Linked DNA regions of Homo sapiens: regions 1, 3, 4, 5 and 6 are each linked to region 2. Evidence: promoter capture Hi-C in 16 types of primary human blood cells and fetal thymus (Javierre and others, 2016). All regions are on one chromosome and are shown on one strand. Each heading gives the region's core, a stretch centred on a gene start or on the middle of the fragment in contact. The rest is flanking DNA. Distances are from core to core; before and after follow the strand shown.

The links. The method cuts DNA at HindIII sites, captures the fragments that hold promoters and counts their contacts. A CHiCAGO score of 5 or more calls a contact.
Region 1: a fragment that was not itself captured here is called in contact with the fragment with the promoter of ZSCAN32 in region 2 in 15 of 17 cell types (naive CD4 T cells, monocytes, M2 macrophages and 12 more); the score reaches 10.3 in naive CD4 T cells.
Region 3: a fragment that was not itself captured here is called in contact with the fragment with the promoter of ZSCAN32 in region 2 in 1 of 17 cell types (monocytes); the score reaches 5.2 in monocytes.
Region 4: a contact is called between a fragment that was not itself captured here and the fragment with the promoter of ZSCAN32 in region 2, in 10 of 17 cell types (naive CD8 T cells, megakaryocytes, naive CD4 T cells and 7 more). The highest score is 9.2, in naive CD8 T cells.
Region 5: a fragment that was not itself captured here is called in contact with the fragment with the promoter of ZSCAN32 in region 2 in 12 of 17 cell types (monocytes, fetal thymus, erythroblasts and 9 more); the score reaches 9.8 in monocytes.
Region 6: a fragment that was not itself captured here is called in contact with the fragment with the promoter of ZSCAN32 in region 2 in 1 of 17 cell types (monocytes); the score reaches 6.4 in monocytes.

What each region holds. Positions count from the first base shown.
Region 1 is chr16:3,268,492-3,271,191 of GRCh38, forward strand. No RefSeq gene overlaps it. Among named protein-coding and RNA genes, the nearest start is that of LINC00921, 6.1 kb to the left of the region's middle. The HindIII fragment of the contact is 5,663 bases long and covers 1-2,700 here.
Region 2 is chr16:3,399,634-3,402,342 of GRCh38, forward strand. It overlaps ZSCAN32 (zinc finger and SCAN domain containing 32), which reads right to left and starts at 1,371. Exons shown (of 7, transcript NM_001284527.2): 1 at 1,312-1,371. It overlaps ZNF174 (zinc finger protein 174), which reads left to right and starts at 1,582. Exons shown (of 3, transcript NM_003450.3): 1 at 1,582-2,709. The coding sequence starts at 2,372. It overlaps LOC105371059 (a long non-coding RNA gene), which reads left to right. Exons shown (of 4, transcript XR_007064949.1): 4 at 1-36. RefSeq lists silencers at 1,009-1,158, 1,709-1,928 and an enhancer at 1,132-1,631. The HindIII fragment of the contact is 4,650 bases long and covers 1-2,412 here.
Region 3 is chr16:3,209,092-3,211,791 of GRCh38, forward strand. No RefSeq gene overlaps it. Among named protein-coding and RNA genes, the nearest start is that of TRP-AGG1-1, 18 kb to the left of the region's middle. RefSeq lists a silencer at 2,677-2,700. The HindIII fragment of the contact is 989 bases long and covers 906-1,894 here.
Region 4 is chr16:3,150,406-3,153,239 of GRCh38, forward strand. It overlaps TRR-CCG1-3 (tRNA-Arg (anticodon CCG) 1-3), which reads left to right and starts at 269; the gene lies at 269-341. It overlaps TRR-CCT3-1 (tRNA-Arg (anticodon CCT) 3-1), which reads left to right and starts at 2,495; the gene lies at 2,495-2,567. It also overlaps the pseudogene TRP-AGG6-1. RefSeq lists silencers at 1-341, 2,523-2,662. The HindIII fragment of the contact is 2,144 bases long and covers 232-2,375 here.
Region 5 is chr16:3,226,762-3,229,627 of GRCh38, forward strand. The region is part of intron 4 of ZNF200 (zinc finger protein 200); the gene reads right to left. Among named protein-coding and RNA genes, the nearest start is that of ZNF200, 7.0 kb to the right of the region's middle. The HindIII fragment of the contact is 5,587 bases long and covers 1-2,866 here.
Region 6 is chr16:3,246,141-3,248,921 of GRCh38, forward strand. MEFV (MEFV innate immunity regulator, pyrin) reads right to left here. Exons shown (of 10, transcript NM_000243.3): 4 at 2,769-2,781; 5 at 876-1,106; 6 at 385-407. Among named protein-coding and RNA genes, the nearest start is that of MEFV, 9.1 kb to the right of the region's middle. The HindIII fragment of the contact is 2,855 bases long and covers 34-2,781 here.

The sequences.
Region 1 (2,700 bases), core at 139-2,638, 130 kb before region 2:
AAGGTCTGTGTCTGCAGAGCTCAAGGCCTTTCCTTTGGCTTTGCTGTCTCTTGGCATCTGGTAGCTTAGCAGTCATCAAGCCAACCCCGTCATGTTACAGAGGAGGACACAGGCTTCCAGGGGAACTGACTGACTTGAGTTCTACACATCAGTGCAGAGCTGGGACTAGAATTCTGTCCACCTAACTGTATTTGGAAGAAAGTTAAGTGCTATTGACTACACCTAATATCTGAAAGATAAAGGGAGAGGCAGAAGCAAGAATGAATAATGTGGCTGGGCGCGGTGGCTCACGCCTTTAATCCCAGCACTTTGAGAGGCCGAGGCAGGTGGATCACGAGATCAGGAGTTCAAGACCAGCCTGACCAACATGGTGAAACTCCATTTCTACTAAAAATACAAAAATTAGCCGGGCATGGTAGCGTGCGCCTGTAACCCCAGCTACTAAGTAGGCTGAGGCGGGAGGATCGATTGAAGCCGGGAGGTGGAGGTTGCAGTGAGCCGAGATCGCACCATTGCACTCCAGCCTGGGCAACAGAGCGAGACTCTGTCAAAAAGAAAAAAAAAAGAATGAATAATTTTTAAAGCAGGCTGTGAAGAACTAAAAACATGAGGACACGGAAATTCAGAAACACCCATTTCAATATGATTCCTTTCGGATAACTTGAAGCCCAAACAGGATGGAAAATCACAGGCCAAAGTCACCTGAAGGAAGGCTGTCACCCATGACGGACAACCGGGATGTTGCTCTCCATTCATCCCAACGGCAGCAAAGTCTGTCCTGGAACATGGAATGGTTTCTTTATACAGACAACTAAGACTGGCTCCAAGAGAAGAGTTGCTACCACTAACCCCTACATGCTGCCTTGAAAGAGTTGGTGGTAGGTGTTGGAAAATTAATCTGAGTAATTAGGAAACAAAATTTGAAACAAAGAATCCCATGCACAATAGTAGCAAAACCCATAACCAGACATGATAAGAAATTTGCAAGACCTATAAGAAGAAAAGTATATAGGATTACAGAATTTTAAAAGTCCCAGATCATTGAAGAAATACACCACAGTCGTGGATGGAAGAGTTAATATTACAAATATATCATGCATTCCTAAATTAATCAACAAATTATAAGCAAACCCAATTGAAATTGTAACGAGATTTTTTTTTTACATTTTTAAAAAAATGTGATCTTGCTATGTTGCCTGAGCTGGTCTCAAACTTCTAAGCTCATGCGATCTTCCTGCCTTGGCCTCTCAAAATGCTGGCATTACAAGTGTGAGCCACCATGCCCAGCCATAACAAGACTTTCTTTTTTTTTTCAGACTGGGTCTCACTGTTGCCCAGGCTGGAGTGCAGTGGCGTGATCTCAGGTCACTGCAACCTCTGCCTCCCAGGTTCAAGTGATTCTCCTGCCTCAGCCTCCCGAGTAGCTGGGATTACAGGTGCGCCCCACCATGCCCAGCTAATTTTTGTATTTTTAGTAGAGATGAGGTTTCGCCATGTTGGCCAGGCTGTTCTGCCCACCTCACCCTCCCAAAGTGCTGGGATTACAGGCATCAGCCACCGCACCAGGCTGCAAGATGTTTAAGAATGGGCTTTGACAAGTTGATTTTTAAAATTCATAGCCAAAAAAATTGTGAAAAAAATACAGTGGTGTGAGATGTATTGTAACAGATATAACAACAAGCTGTGAAAATACAGTAAATTAGAACAGTAATATGTTTTTACAAGAATGGATATAAGGTAAATGGAAACAAGATTCCGTAAGACGTGTGTATATGCAAAAGATGGTATTTAAAACCCAAGGGGAAAAGGTGGCCCAACTTATAAATAGTTTTGGGACTGTTGACAGTTGAGCTGGAAAACATAGACTTCTGCCTGACATATATAAAAAATAAACTCCATATATATATATATATATATATATATATATATATATATTTTTTTTTTTTTTTGAGACGGAATGTCGCTCTTGTTTCCCAGGCTGGAGTGCAATGGTGTGATCTGGGCTCATTGCAACCTCTGCCTCCCAGGTTCAAGTGATTCTCCTGCCTCAGCCTCCCAAGTAGCTGGGATTACAGGCATGTGCCACCACACCCGGCTAATTTTTTGTATTTTTAGTGGAGATGGGTTTTCACCATGTTGCCCAGACTGGTCTCGAACTCCTGACCTCGAGTGATCCACCCGCCTCGGCCTCCCAAAATGCTGGGATTACAACCATGAGCCACCGCACCTGGCCCAGATGATTTAAAGAAACACGAAGTGTAATATCTGTAAATTTGTTTAAATTTCGCAGTGAGGAAGATCTTTCTTTTTTTTTATTTTTTATTTTTTTATTGATCATTCTTGGGTGTTTCTCGCAGAGGGGGACTTGGCAGGGCCATAGGACAACAGTGGAGGGAAGGTCAGCAGACAAACAAGTGAACAAAGGTCTCTGGTTTTCCTAGGCAGAGGACCCTGCGGCCTTCTGCAGTGTTTGTGTCCTTGGGTACTTGAGATTAGGGAGTGGTGATGACTCTTAACGAGCATGCTGCCTTCAAGCATCTGTTTAACAAAGCACATCTTGCACTGCCCTTAATCCATTTAACCCTGAGTGGACACAGCACATGTTTCAGAGAGCACAGGGTTGGGGGTAAGGTCACAGATCAACAGTATCCCAAGGCAGAAGAATTTTTCTTAGTACAGAACAAAATGAAAAGTCTCCCA
Region 2 (2,709 bases), core at 121-2,620:
TGGAGTCTCACTCTGTTGCCCAGGCTGGTCTCAAACTCCTGAACTCAAGCAATCCTCCCACCTCAACCTCCCAAAGTGTTAGGATTACAAGTATAAGCCACCATGCCCGACCTTAAAAATAATTTTAAATAGAAGCTAACTTTTGTATTTTTTGTAGAGGTGGAGTTTCACTATGTTGCCCAGGCTGGTCTCAAACTCCTGTGCTCAAGTGATCCTCCCACCTTGGCCTCCCAAAGTGCTGGGATTACAGGTGTGAGCCACTGCACCCGCGAAGGCAGTCTTTTTTAATGAGTTTGTGTTGGTTTTTATCTACTTAAAACACAGATTAAAGCAGATCGTAATTTACATTTTCTCCAGGGGCTGATACACCCTCACCATGTGGTATTAAAATGGATCCAGCATGCACAACAAGATGAATATACTCAGGACTACTGAGCTGTACACTTAAAAATGGTTATGATGGTAAATGTTTTTTAAAAATTAAAGAAATTTTTTTATATTTTAAAAATGGATTTGGGTTCCCTTTTCTCAAGGAACTTGAACTGCCTTCACTTAAATTCTCTTTACATTTCAGTGCTTCTAGAGATAGAGAAATCAAGGGCATTATTATTGTTAGCACTGCTTTCTAGCCAAAAAGAAACTGAGAGCGATGAAGTATCTTGCCTAAAGCATCACACAGCACAGCTCCTAGGCAGCAAGGCCAGGACTAGAACCAGCACCCCTTGCCTTCATTATGTTCATCCTGTGCCTTACCTGGCTGAAGAAGAATTTAATAAAAGCTCTTCTAACTTCATGCAGAAGGCGGAACCTGCACCCTTCTTGACCCCTTTTGACCCCTTACCTCCCACTCATCGTTAAATTTTAAAATGCTGTTCTCTGAAAATTTTACTTCACTCTAGCGATGGCCCAAACACTCGGAAAAAAATGTAGCATGAGGATGGGGAGCCAGGTTGATAGGTTTTTCACTTAGTTAACTATTTATTGAGTACTCAGAACGCACTCGGTGCCAGGGCTAGGCACTGTGGATGAGTAGGGAGTGGGCGAGACAGGGACGAGATGAGCAGGGTCAAGGCCAGGGGGTCCCGGGGCGCCGGCGCTCAGGCTCGGGGTGATCCGCACGGTGGGAGCGGGGCACGGTGATCGCGGCGCGTCTGGGGACGCCCGGCCTGAGGGAGGCTGCCTGTCCCAAGGAGACGCCCATCGGGGCCGGACCCGAACGCCTCGGAGAAGACTCCCAGCGGGGAGGGGCTCCTCGGCCGTCGCAGGGCCCAGCGGCTAATCCCGCCGGCCGCAAGGAAGCGGAGAACTCACCGGACACCAGCACTCGCGACTCCACAAACTCCCTCAGCCTCCGGGCCGGAAGTCAGCGGCGCGATTCGCTCCGCCCATTACGCACGCCCCTGCGCAGGCCCGCAAGCCGAATTGCCGGACTGCAGCTCCCGGGATGCACTGCGACGGTATTGACAGGCGCAGCAACCAATAGACGGTAGAGAATGCCCTTGGCAGGAGGCGGGCCCTGTCAGTAGTTGTCCTCAGCAGCTAGTGGGCGTCTCCGCAGCGAGTGGCATCGGCCCCGCCCCCAGCCCGTGCTCGCCGGTGTCGGGTCCTAAGTCCCTCGGTCTTGGGTTCCCGGAGAGGTGAGTCGGCTGCAGGTGGGTGCGGGGCGCCGGGCTGTTCGGGGTACCGGTGTCGCAGTCGCCAGTCCGAGCTCACACCGGGCGTGGAGTTCAGCTGCGCATCGGGTTGCGGCAGCTTCGCCAGGCCTGGGGCTGGCTGGGCCGCGGGGCCGCCCTGGAGGCCGGAGCCACTGGGCCTGCGGCGCCTCGGCAGCGAGCAGCCGCTTTGCTCGCGTGCAGGAGGCTGTTCGCTACCTCACACCCCCGGCTGGCGCTGTGGCCTCGCTTAGCTCTACCGTTTAGCACCCGGCGACATGCACCCGGTCGGTTTCCGCCAGGATGCGGGAGAGTTGGGGCAAGCTACCTGCGACAGCTTGAACTTTTCCTAGGGATTCCGCTCCACCCGCCGGTTAGAGCGTATTGCTCATTAAATCCGAGACCTGTGTGCTTGCTACTGAAATAAAAGAAGTATTTTTTCCCCAGAGTCCTTTTAGGACGTTATGACTTTTCTCCTTTGCAAGACTGCAAAAAACTGACAAGAAGACAAAACTCTTCCCACTCCCAGGGACCGCGTTGTCTTGAGTTTGGCTAGTAAAGGCTAGCAAGTGAGGCTTTGTCTCTGCATCCCGTTCCCCCTAACATCCTCAGAGAACCTTCGTTTCTAGAATCTTTCTAGTATTCAGAGACTTCTCCAGGGTCATGATCCCAAAGGCTTAACCCGTTTACAAGGAGAGAGTTGTCTCCTGACGCCCAAAATGGCAGCTAAAATGGAGATAACTTTAAGCTCCAACACTGAAGCTTCCTCCAAGCAAGAGAGACACATAATAGCCAAACTAGAAGAGAAACGGGGCCCTCCTCTGCAAAAAAACTGCCCAGATCCTGAGCTCTGCCGCCAGAGCTTCAGACGCTTTTGTTATCAAGAGGTGTCTGGACCCCAAGAGGCTCTCTCCCAGCTCCGACAGCTCTGCCGTCAGTGGTTGCAACCCGAGCTGCACACCAAGGAGCAGATTTTGGAGCTTCTGGTGATGGAGCAGTTCCTGACCATCCTGCCCCCGGAGATCCAGGCTCGGGTCAGGCATCGATGTCCAATGAG
Region 3 (2,700 bases), core at 150-2,649, 190 kb before region 2:
TCAGAGGAGTCAGTCAGGTGGAGAGAGGGAGAGACTGGGGAGCTAGAAGCATCCACTGGCACGATCCTGTGAGTTACGGCACACAGTGCAGTCCCTGCCCTTCGATGCCTGGTCAGCTGACAGCCTGTGTGCTGCAACATAGATGCCTGTGGCCCATCCCTTTGGGGGCCACACTGGGACCCACCTAAGGTTCAGATCACAGCCATCTGTGTTCAAACTCATGTTATTCTCCACTAAAATCTGACTCTGGGCCGGGTATGGTGGCTCCCACCTGTAATCACAACACCTTTAAAGTCCAAGGTGGGAGGATCATTTGAGCCCAGGAGTTTGAGACCAGCCTGGGCAATATAGTGAGACTCCATCTCTACAAAAAATTAAAAAATTAACTGGGCATGGTGGCTCATACCTGTGGTCCCAGCTACTTGGGAGGCTGAGGTGGGAGGATCACTTGAGCCCAGGAAGTTGAGGCTGCAGTGAGCTGCGATCGTGCCACTGCACTCCAGCCTCGGGAACAAAGCATGATCCTGTCTCCAAAAAAAAAAAAAAAAATCTGCCTCCGGATGGACACCCACTCCCTGGCCCTGGGGCTTCCAGTCCCACTGTGTCAAACCAGGTTTCCCCAGGAACACCCAGAGCAGATCCAGGCTTATTCCTTTGAGATTCCCTCTGGGTCCTAGGGATCTTTTTATGTGGAAATGACTTCAATATATTTTTTTCTCATGATATAGCTGTAGCTGTAAAATATAATCCAAATAGATCTATATGAAGATTATAATGTTTGAATTCTGACTGCTTCTTATTATTTATTTAGTTGATTTGCAAAGTCTAATAATTAACATTTCAATTATTTTCTTTCTATATGTTAATAGCTTTTACCTTTTTTTCTTTACAGAATGATTGCAGTAAGCTTTTACTTTTTTTTTTTTAACGTCCTTTTTTTTTCTGCGGGGGGGATGAAGTCTCAGTCTGTTGCCCAGGCTGGAGTGCAGCAGCACGATCTCAGCTCACTGTAACCTCTGCCTCCTGGGTTCAAGTGATTTTCCTGCCTCAACCTCTTGAGTGGCTGGGATTACAGACATCCACCACCATGCCTGGCTAATTTTTGTATTTTTAGTAGAGATGGGGTTTCACCATGTTGGCCAGGCTGGTCTTGAACTCCTGACCTCAAGTGATCTGCCTACCTTGGCATCCCAAAGTGCTGGAATTACAGGCATGAGCCACCATGCCGGGTCAGCTTTACTTTTTGATTTGATCTTTGGTTATGGAGGTGATGTGGTTTGGCTGTTTGTCTCCACCAAATCTCATGTTGAAATGTGATTCTCAGTGTTGGAGGTGGCGCCTGGCAGGTGGTGTTTAGGTCATGGGGGTGGGTCCCTCATGAATGGCTTGGTTCCCCCCACACAGTAATAAGTTACCATGAGCTCTGATTGTTAGAGCCTGGGAGCTTCCCCTTCTCCCTTTTATTCCCTCTCTCTTCATGTGACACACCTGTTTCCACTTCACCTTCTGCCATGATTGGAAACTTCCTGAGGCCTCACCAGAAGTAGGTGCCCACACCATGCTTCTTGTACAGCCTGCAGAATCATGACCCAAAAAAACTTTTCTTTATAAATTACCCAGAGTCAGGTATTTCTTTATAGCAGCGAAAACGGACTAACACAGAAGGCCTGGAGGCTGGTGAATGTTATCCATTCATTATAAATTATATTAAATACCTTCTAGAAATAGAATGATCTTTGTCCTCTTCAATTCTTGTTTCTGCTTAAAGCATACTTTGGTTAATACTAATATTACTCATTCTGCTTTCTTGTGTTTGCTCATTCTCTCAGACTTTCTGAAATAGTTGACTTGGATGAAGGGCTCCTTCCCTCTGTATCAAGATCTTCCTTTTCAAAGCTTTCAGTATGTGAGAAAAAATTAGGGCAGGCAAGGTGGCTCACGCCTGTAATCCCAGCACTTTGGGAGGCCTAGGCTGGTGGATCACGACGTCAGGAGATCGAGACCATCCTGGCTAACACGGTGAAACCCCGTCTCTACTAAAAATACAAAAAAATTATCCAGGCATGGTGGTGGGCACCTGCAGTCCCAGTTACTTGGGAGGCTGAGGCAGGAGAATCACTTGAACCTGGGAGGTGGAGGCTGCAGTGAGCCAAGATCACGCTGCTGCACTCCAGCCTGGATGACAGAGTGAGACTCTGTCTAAAAAAAATTAAAAAAAATAAAAAAAAAATAGAGTGTAATCTAACACCTAGAAAGAACAGTCTACAGGCCGGGCATGGTGGCTCACGCCTGTAATCCCAGCCCTTGGGGAGGCTGAAGTAGGCGCCTGTAATCCCAGCCTTTGGGGAGGCCGAGGTAGGCGGATCACCTGAGGTCAGGAGTTCGAGACCAGACTGACCAACATGGTGAAACCGCATCTCTACTAAAAATACAAAAAAAAATCTGGGCGTGGTGGTGGGTTCTTGTAATACCAGCTACTCAGGAACCTGCGGTGGGAGGATCCCTTGAGCCTGGGAAGTGGAGGTTGCAGTGAGTCGAGATTGTGTTACTGCACTACAGCCTGGGCGACAGTAAGACTCTGTCTCAAAAAAAAAAAAAGTGATTCTGTTTTTCAGTTTGTCTTTTGTCTATCTCACACACTTTTGTCTCTGCTCTTCCACGTATATTTTTATCTACTAATTTTCACCTTTGAATGTCCCT
Region 4 (2,834 bases), core at 54-2,553, 250 kb before region 2:
AGCGCTCCCAAACGGCGTCTCGGAGGGGCCTGCTGCGGGGAGGGTGGGGTAGGGCGGGCTCGCCAGGGCTCGAACTCACAGTCCCGGGCCCGCGGCGGCGGTTTCCACCCAGCAGCCTCAGCGGCCCGGCGCGGTGGCCCAGCTCGGAGTCCCGCCCACCGGGAGCCTCGGAAGGACCGGCCTCCCCTCACTCTAAGCATGCGCGTTAAAGCGACAGCATAGGCTATAGAAAGCTTTATGAGAATAGCTGGGAGCCATACAGCCGCAGGGCCGCGTGGCCTAATGGATAAGGCGTCTGATTCCGGATCAGAAGATTGAGGGTTCGAGTCCCTTCGTGGTCGTTGCCATGTTAACGTTTTCTTCCAGCTCCACTTAAAATTTCTTCACCTGGGACTGCACCCTGGGCGACTACGACACTCGAACTGAGTGCGCCGGTCGCTCTCCCCTCACCCCCGTAGGAACACTGGGACCTCGCCCTGCGCCTCCAGTCGCGAAGCTAAGGACCCAGGGCCAGAATAGCAGCGAGGGCGACTTAGAGAACGCCGGCAGGGCCCTGGCGGACTGCGGAGCTTGAAGCCAGAGAACGCAGGTCCTGGGATCTGGTAGGGGATTGACTTCACAAATTAACGTTCAGGTGATGGAAACCGTGACAGACGCGGGGCTGGGATTGCTTGCTGTGAGGAGTTGCCCCAAGGGATCAAAGGACACCTGTAGTTTTTTGTTTTTGTTTTTGTTTTTTTTTTGAGACGGAGTTTCGCTCTTGTTGCCTAGGCTGGAGTGCAATGTCTTGATCTCCGCTCACTGCAACCTCCGCCTCCCGGGTTCAAACGATTCTCCTGCCTCAGCCTTCCGAGTAGCTGGGATTACAGGCATGCGCCACCAGGCCCGGCTAATTTTTGTATTTTTAGTAGGGTGGGGGGGTGGGCGGGGGTGGGTTCTCCATGTTGGCCAGGCTGGTCTCGAACTCCCGACCTCAGGTGATCGTCCAGCCTCGGTCTCCCAAAGTGCTGGGCTTACAGGCGTGAGCCACCGCGCCCGGCGACATGTGTAGTTTAATTGATTATTGTGATGAAAAACTTTGTATCAACTGATCATGGGGTAACAAAGTAAAAAAGAAAACGATTATAGTGGTGATGAGCCGGGCGCGGTGGCTCACGCCTCTAATCCCAGCACTTTGGGAGGTCGAGGCGGGCGAATCATGAGGTCGGGAGTTCCAGACCAGCCTGACTCACATGGTAAAACCCCGTTTCTACTAAAAATACAAAAATTAGCGGGACGTGGTGGCGCGCGCCTGTACTCCCAGCTACTCAGGAGGCTGAGGCAGGAGAATCGCTTGAACCCGGGAGGCCGGAGGCTGCAGTGAGCCAAGATCGCGCCACTGCACTCCAGCCTGGGCGACAGAGCGAGACTCCGTCTCAAAATAGAAAATAAATAAAATAAAATAAAATAAAATAAAATAAAATAAAATAAAATAAAATAAAATAAAATTCAAAGAGTATCTCCAGGATTGAGTTAATATTTCGCCGAGGGGAAAAAAAATGTCTACCAGCGGAACCCGAGTTTAGTCCGGGTGCCGAGCAGCGCCTCTTGGGGTATCCTTCCACGGGGTGGGGTATCCTTCCACGGGGTGAAGGCTGCGGAGAGTCGCAGCTGCAGGCATGGCCTCCGGTCGGCGGACGCTGGTGACCTGGCGTCGTGCAGGGTGTCACTTTCTCCTTTAATTTTTTTTGATGTTTCAGTGGTTTACGAAGGTATTTGTTTTTGGTAGAGACGGGGCGCTCACTATTTTGCCCATGATGGTCTCGAACTCCTGGACTGAAGCGTTTACTAGGTATTAAAGGAAAAGAACGTCATTAAAATACAGATTTTTTAAAAAAGGAAAATAACACACGTGTTGGGGCAGGAAAGTAAACACCCAACGTGGCGATCCTGAGATTAACACCTAGCCAGCTGGGGATGTAGAGGGCGGATTTTGGAGGGTCATTATTAAGAGGCTTCCGACCACTGGGCGGCACCCTTGGTCTAACGGACAATGCGGGGGAGGAGGACGAAGACCGACACTTCCAGAAGCGGCGGGCTCGGGATGAGGAGCCAGTTGCTGAGCTGGCATCGCGTGCCCCTTCCCATACACTCTACCCATCGCAAGTGCATCATTCGCTACTAATTACCCCTAGACTTGGGTTGTCTCCTGAGTGGAGACGACGGCTTGTGAAGGAGTTGATCCAGGCACCTCTCGCACCCTAAGCGAAGATCATACCCCTAGACCAAAGAGCGGAGCCAAAAATCTGACGTTCGGTGTCTTTCAGGTCCCTCTGCACGTGCGCCGTCTCTTTGGGGTCCCGAGGATGCTCAGGAGCGGACGAGATCTGAACCGAAGCTTGGATTGCAGTGGAGGGGCGGGAGAAAGGCCAGGGTAGGACGGGCAGGCTGTGCAGGAACCACCGCGGAGTGATGGAGAAACTGGTCTAAGACAAGCGACAGCGTTTTGTTATCCGCCCCGGTGGCCTAATGGATAAGGCATTGGCCTCCTAAGCCAGGGATTGTGGGTTCGAGTCCCACCCGGGGTAAAGAAAGGCCGAATTTTAGTGTTCCTTATCGGGCAGAAGAGTTAGAATGCGGTATACTCCAGTGGAGGTGCGGAGTTTCCGAAGGGTTACCAAAAAGGCTCTAAATCAGAAACCTCTACCTGTTTTCAAGGAAGACGAGCACAATTTCACGTTACAGAAAAAAGGAGCCGAATCTTTTACAGGATGTTAAGTACCATCCATTTAACTTGATAGAAAGGAATGATTGTTTATTTTTCCAGGTTTGTTAATTCTATTATGGTTACAAAT
Region 5 (2,866 bases), core at 280-2,779, 170 kb before region 2:
GTCAGATTTCCAGAATTGAACTCCTGGAACAAAGGATAAGATGGGTAGTTACAGATGCAATTACCCTTATACAGGGACTATACCATTTTATATGCCCACCAGCAATATACCTGTTTCTCAACAACCTCACCATCAATGTGTTTTTATTTCTATAAATATGAAATACGCAAAATGTTAATTCACTAGAGGCTTAATTTGCACTTCTTTTTGCTCCTGTCACGCAGGCTGGAGTGCAGTGGCGTGATCTCGGCTCACTGCAACCTCCACCTCCTGGGTTCAAGTGATTCTCCTTCCTCAGCCTCCCGAGTAGCTGGGATTATAGGCATGCCCCACCACATCCAGCTAATTTTTGTATTTTTAGTAAAAATGGGGTTTTGCCATGTTGGCCAGGCTGGTCTCAAAACTCCTGACCTCAGGTGATCCACCTGCCTCGGCCTCCCAAAGTGCTGGGATTACAGGCGTGAGCCACCATGCCCCAGCCTTTTGTACGTATTTGAATCTGTCAATCTTTTCTTTCAAGGCTTCTGGGCTTTTGAGTCTTAATTACAAAAACCTTCCTATCCCATGGTTATAAAGGAATCACTCATATTTTCTAAATGTGCTTTTTATATTTGTTTTAAACATTTAAAATCTTTGATCCATGTGGACTTTTTCTTGGTATGTAAAGTAAGGTACTAATTTATCAAGTGGCTGTCAGTCGTCCTAACACCTTTTATCAAAAAGTCCCCCTTTATGGTTAGGCTTTGTGTCCTCGCCCAAATCTCATCTTAAATTGTAATCCCACATGTCAAGGAGACATCAGGTGAAGGTAACTGAGTCATGGGCGGGGGGGCCTTCCCCCATGCTATTCTCATGATAGTGAGTTCTCATGAGATCTGATGGTTTTATAAGGGGCTCTTCCCCCTTTACTCGTACTTCTCCCTCCTGCTGCCTTGTGAAGATGATGCCTTGCTTCCTCTTGCCTTTGCCATGATTTTAAGTTTCTGGAGGCCTCCCCAGCCATGCTGAACTGTGAGTCAATTAAACCTGTTTCCTTTATAAATTACCAAGTCTCGGACAATTCTTTATACCAGTGTGAAAATGGACGAATACACCAACTTTATCACACACTAAACTCCCATGTGTATTTGAGGCTATTTCGGGACTTTCTGAGATCACAGTCTTGTTCCAAGGGAAAAATGCTATTGGTATTGTTGAAAAAAAACACATCAAATTAATAAATCAACAAGAGGAGAAATGACCTTTTTATGATATTGTCTCCCTAGCCAAAAACATAGTATTTTTTTTTTTTGCTTTCGTTGAAATCTACTCTTGTCCTTTAGCCTTGTTTTAAAGTTTCCTCATAAATTTGCACATTTCTTGAGTTTATTCCTAAGTATTTAAACTTTCATGTTTCTATTCTAATGGGGCCTTCCACTGTATCTTCTAAATGACCCCATTTATATATGTGAAAGCCAATGATTTCTGTTTATTCACTTTATTTCCCACTACCTTAGTGAATGGTCTCATTTTTTCCCATGAGAGTACTTAAGACAAATAAATGTTCTTATTTTTAAGTTTTCTGATTACTCTGTTCTACCTATAAGGAAGTATCTGTTAACTATTTTGTTAAATGTTCTTATAAAGGAGAGGCTTCAATTTTGTCAAGTATCTTTTCAGTAACTATACAAGTAAACAAATGATTTTTCTCCTTTATATATAAGAAATATTAATAGATTTGTATTATTTCTGTTTTTTTAATTATTTTTTTTGAGATGGAGTCTTGCTCTGTCCCCTAGGCTGGAGTACAATGATGTGATCTCAGCTCACTGCAACCTCTGCCTCCCGGGTTCAAGTGATTCTCCTACCTCAGCCTCCAGAGTAACTGGGATTACAAGCACGCACCACCACACCCAGCTAACTTTTGTATATTTTTTTTTTAGTAGAGATGGGGTTTTGCTATGTTGGACAGGCTGGTCTCAAACTCCTGACCTCAGGTATCACCCGCCTTTGCCTCCCAAAGTGCTGGGATTACAGCCGTGAACCACTGTGCCCAGCATGGGGACTGGATTTCAACACGAGATTTGGAGGGGACAAATATCCAAACTATATCAGCAACCTTGCGTCAAAGGGGTAAAAACAAATTAAAATTGCATATTTTTTCTAGAAAACATTATACAGACCTTCATATTCATAGGTTCTGCATCTGAGGATTCAACCAACCAAGGATTGAAAATATTTGAGAGAAAAAAAAAGGATGGTTTTGTCTGTACATATTCAGTTTTTTTGTCATTCCCTAAACAATTTAGTATAACAACTATTTATGTAGCATTTACTTTGTATTAGGTATTATAATTGATCTAGAAATAAAATATATGGTAGGATATGTGTGGAGTATATGTAAATGCTACACCATTTTATATAATGAATTTGAGCATCCATGGATTTTGGTATCTGAGTGGGGGTCCTGGAACCAATCCCCCATGAATACCAAGGACAAGTGTATATCAGAATTTATGGTATAACCTAAAGTGATGCTCATAAGAGAGCTCATGGCTGTAAAAACATGTATTAATTTAGAAAAATGAGAATAATAAAGCCTCTGATTCAAAGTTAGAAAAACAATAGGATAAATTTAAAAGAATGAAGGTATTAATAAATACCAATTAGAAAGTAATGAGTTAAAAATAGAAAAAAACTAGTAAGATTTAAGCAAAAATAAACCAATTTCCATAGAGAAAATTGAAATTATCAAAAAAAGACTAGCCACCTACCCAAGAAAAGCACCAGCCTCAGACAGTTCCACAGAAAATTCTTCTAAACTTTTAAAAATTAAATAATTCAAATGCTAGGAAAATTTCCAGAGTATAGAAAAAGAAGGTTGGGA
Region 6 (2,781 bases), core at 211-2,710, 150 kb before region 2:
CCTGCTGGGCTTAGCCCAGCTCCACTCCAAACAAGCTTCCCAAGGCCACCAGTAGGCCTGAAGGGGCAGCTTTCATCAGATGAACTGCACGGGACACAATGCACTCGGAAGGTTTCTTAGGGAGCCTCCATCTTGTTTCAGCAGGATGGGCTGAATTCACCCTTCCCAGTCTGCAGCTCCATACCCGGCCAGCCTCCCTGCTGACCAGATGCCCTTCTCCCTATCAAATCCAGAGAGGCTTTGGGAAGCTGCAGAAAAAAGGAGGAGTCTGGAATCACAGACCCCGGGGTTGGGAACATCTCCCTCCCAGGTCCCTTCTGGGACTGTCTCCCCCATATGCTTTCTGCAAGACACCCCAGGGTACACCACAGGACCTCGCTGTACCTGTGCAAGATGTCTCCAATGTCCTAGGAGAAAAAAGAAGGAAACTGTCGGTTACCAGGCTCCTAGTGGCTGGGCTGACTCCTGGCCTCTACTTCTGGGCTCCTGGACTTTTAGCTCCCCGCTGCACTTACCAGGGCTCCCTGCCCTAGGGTGTCAGTGGAAGTGGAGCACCTTTCTTCAAGTCTAATTCTAACCACGGGAATTCAGGCATCCCAGGTGGCGAGGCCTGCAATGGAACGGCCCTCAAGCCCTGCTGATCCCTTCTGGGAAATGGCAGAGATCCCCTGGATACCAGGCCACCCTGGGCTCCTGAGAGACCTCATCAAAGGGGTCTGGGCACAAGAGGCACTGTGGGTCACCAAGACCAAGTCCTATCCTAGGCCTTAGGGGCTTCACCCACTTGTTCCAGCACGGCTGATGGCAGAGCTGGGAGCCTGAGGCATCCTGATAGGCACAGGGGACCCAAGAAAGCCGGGCCCAGGCACACCCACCTGCAGAAGTTCCCATTCTGACTGGCACTCCTTGGCCTCCAGTTCCCCAATCAGCGCATCGAGCAGGGCGATGTCCTGGGATACGCGGGTGTCATATGCCTTCCTGATCTGCCCAACCATCTGGCCCACGTCCTCCAGTGAGGCCACAAAGAAATGCTCTTGCTGCTCCAGGAAGTAGTACACCTGCTCCAGCTTCCTCTGCACCCGCTGCTTCAGCGCTTCAGTTTGTTTCTGGGGAGCAGAGGACAGGGAGGTATGGGGGTCTGTGCTGTGGGTGGACGTGGATGTCCAGGAACCCCCAGAAGCCCACCTCCTGGAGGTGGATAAGAGGTGGGCTTATGCTGCCTCTTCAAGGCCTAGATTCCAGAGCAGGAGGCGATATTGTCTGGAACCTTCCAGAAAAGACTGAGCATGGCTGGGGCTAGCTCTGGGAAAATGTCCTTAAACCTGGTGTTAAGGTTTAACTGTGTCCCTTCCAAAATTTACACGTTGAAGCCCTAACCCCCAGTACTCAGCATGTGATCTTATTTGGAGATAAGAGTTCTTGCAGATGTAATTAGTTAAGATGTGGTCCTACTGGGATTGGGTGGGTCCCTAATCCAATATAAATGTTGTCTTATAAAATGGGGAAATTTGGGCTGGGTGCATTGGCTCATGTCTGTAATCCCAGCACTTTGGGAGGCTGAGTTGGGCAGATCACTTGAGATCAGGAGTTCGAGACCAGCCTGGCCAACATGGGGAAACTCTGTCTTTACTAAAAATACAAAAATTAGCCAGGAGTGGTGGCATGTGCCTACAGTCCCAGCAACTCGGGAGGCTGAGGCAGGAGAATTGCTTCAACTGGGGAGGCGAAGGTTTGCAGTGAGCCGAGATTGCACCACTGCACCCCAGCCTGGACGACGGAGTGAGATTCCATCTCAAAAAAAAAAAAAAAAAAAAACCCTAAAAAACAAAAAAACCAGCCCAGGCACGATGGCTCACACCTGTAATCCCAGCACTTTGGGAGGCCGAGGCAGGTGGATCACCTGAGGTCAGGAGTTTGAGACCAGCCTGGCCAACACGGTGAAATCCCGTCTCTACTAAAAATACAAAAATTAGCCAGGCGCGGTGGCAGGCGCCTGTAATTCCAGCCACTAAGGAGGCTGAGGCAGGAGAATTGCTTGAACCTCGGAGGTGGAGGTTGGAGCAAGCCAAGATCGTGCCACTGTACTCCAGCCTGGGTGACAGAGCGAGACTCCATCTTGGAAACAAAACAAAAAAACAGAGAGTAAATTATGAAGTTAAAAGTGTTCTTGGCCGGGCGCAGTGGCTCACATCTGTAATCCCAGTACTTTGGGAGGCCAAGGCGGGCGGATCACGAGTTCAGGAGTTCGAGAACAGCCTGACCAACATGGTGAAACCCCATCTCTACTAAAACTACAAAAATTAGCCAGGCATGGTGGCACTCACCTATAATCCCAGCTACTCAGGAGGCTGAGGCAGGAGAATCGCTTGAACCCGGGAGGCAGAGGTTGCAGTGAGCCAAGATCACACCACTGCACTACAACCTGGGTGACAGAGCGAGACTCCGTCACAAAAAAAGAAAGTGGCGTTCTCCTCCCTTTTCCTCAATCCCATCTTTCTGCAGTAGTCACCGGCATAGGTTGCTCTCTACCATCTTCTGGTGAGTATGAGAAAGCATGACAGGATCCTCAGAGGTGACCCCTGCCTGCTGGGGGTGGTCTCCCTCTACAGGGATGAGCTTACCCTTGGCTGCTGGTTACCCTCTGTCCCCTGAGAGGAGGTGGCCATCCCTGCTGCCCTGTGAACCACAGCAGAATCTCGGGGACCCCTGCTCACTCTTCCCACCTTCCTCCCAGGGACGGATGGGCCATCAGCCACCTCTGACCTTACCAGAAAGCTCACT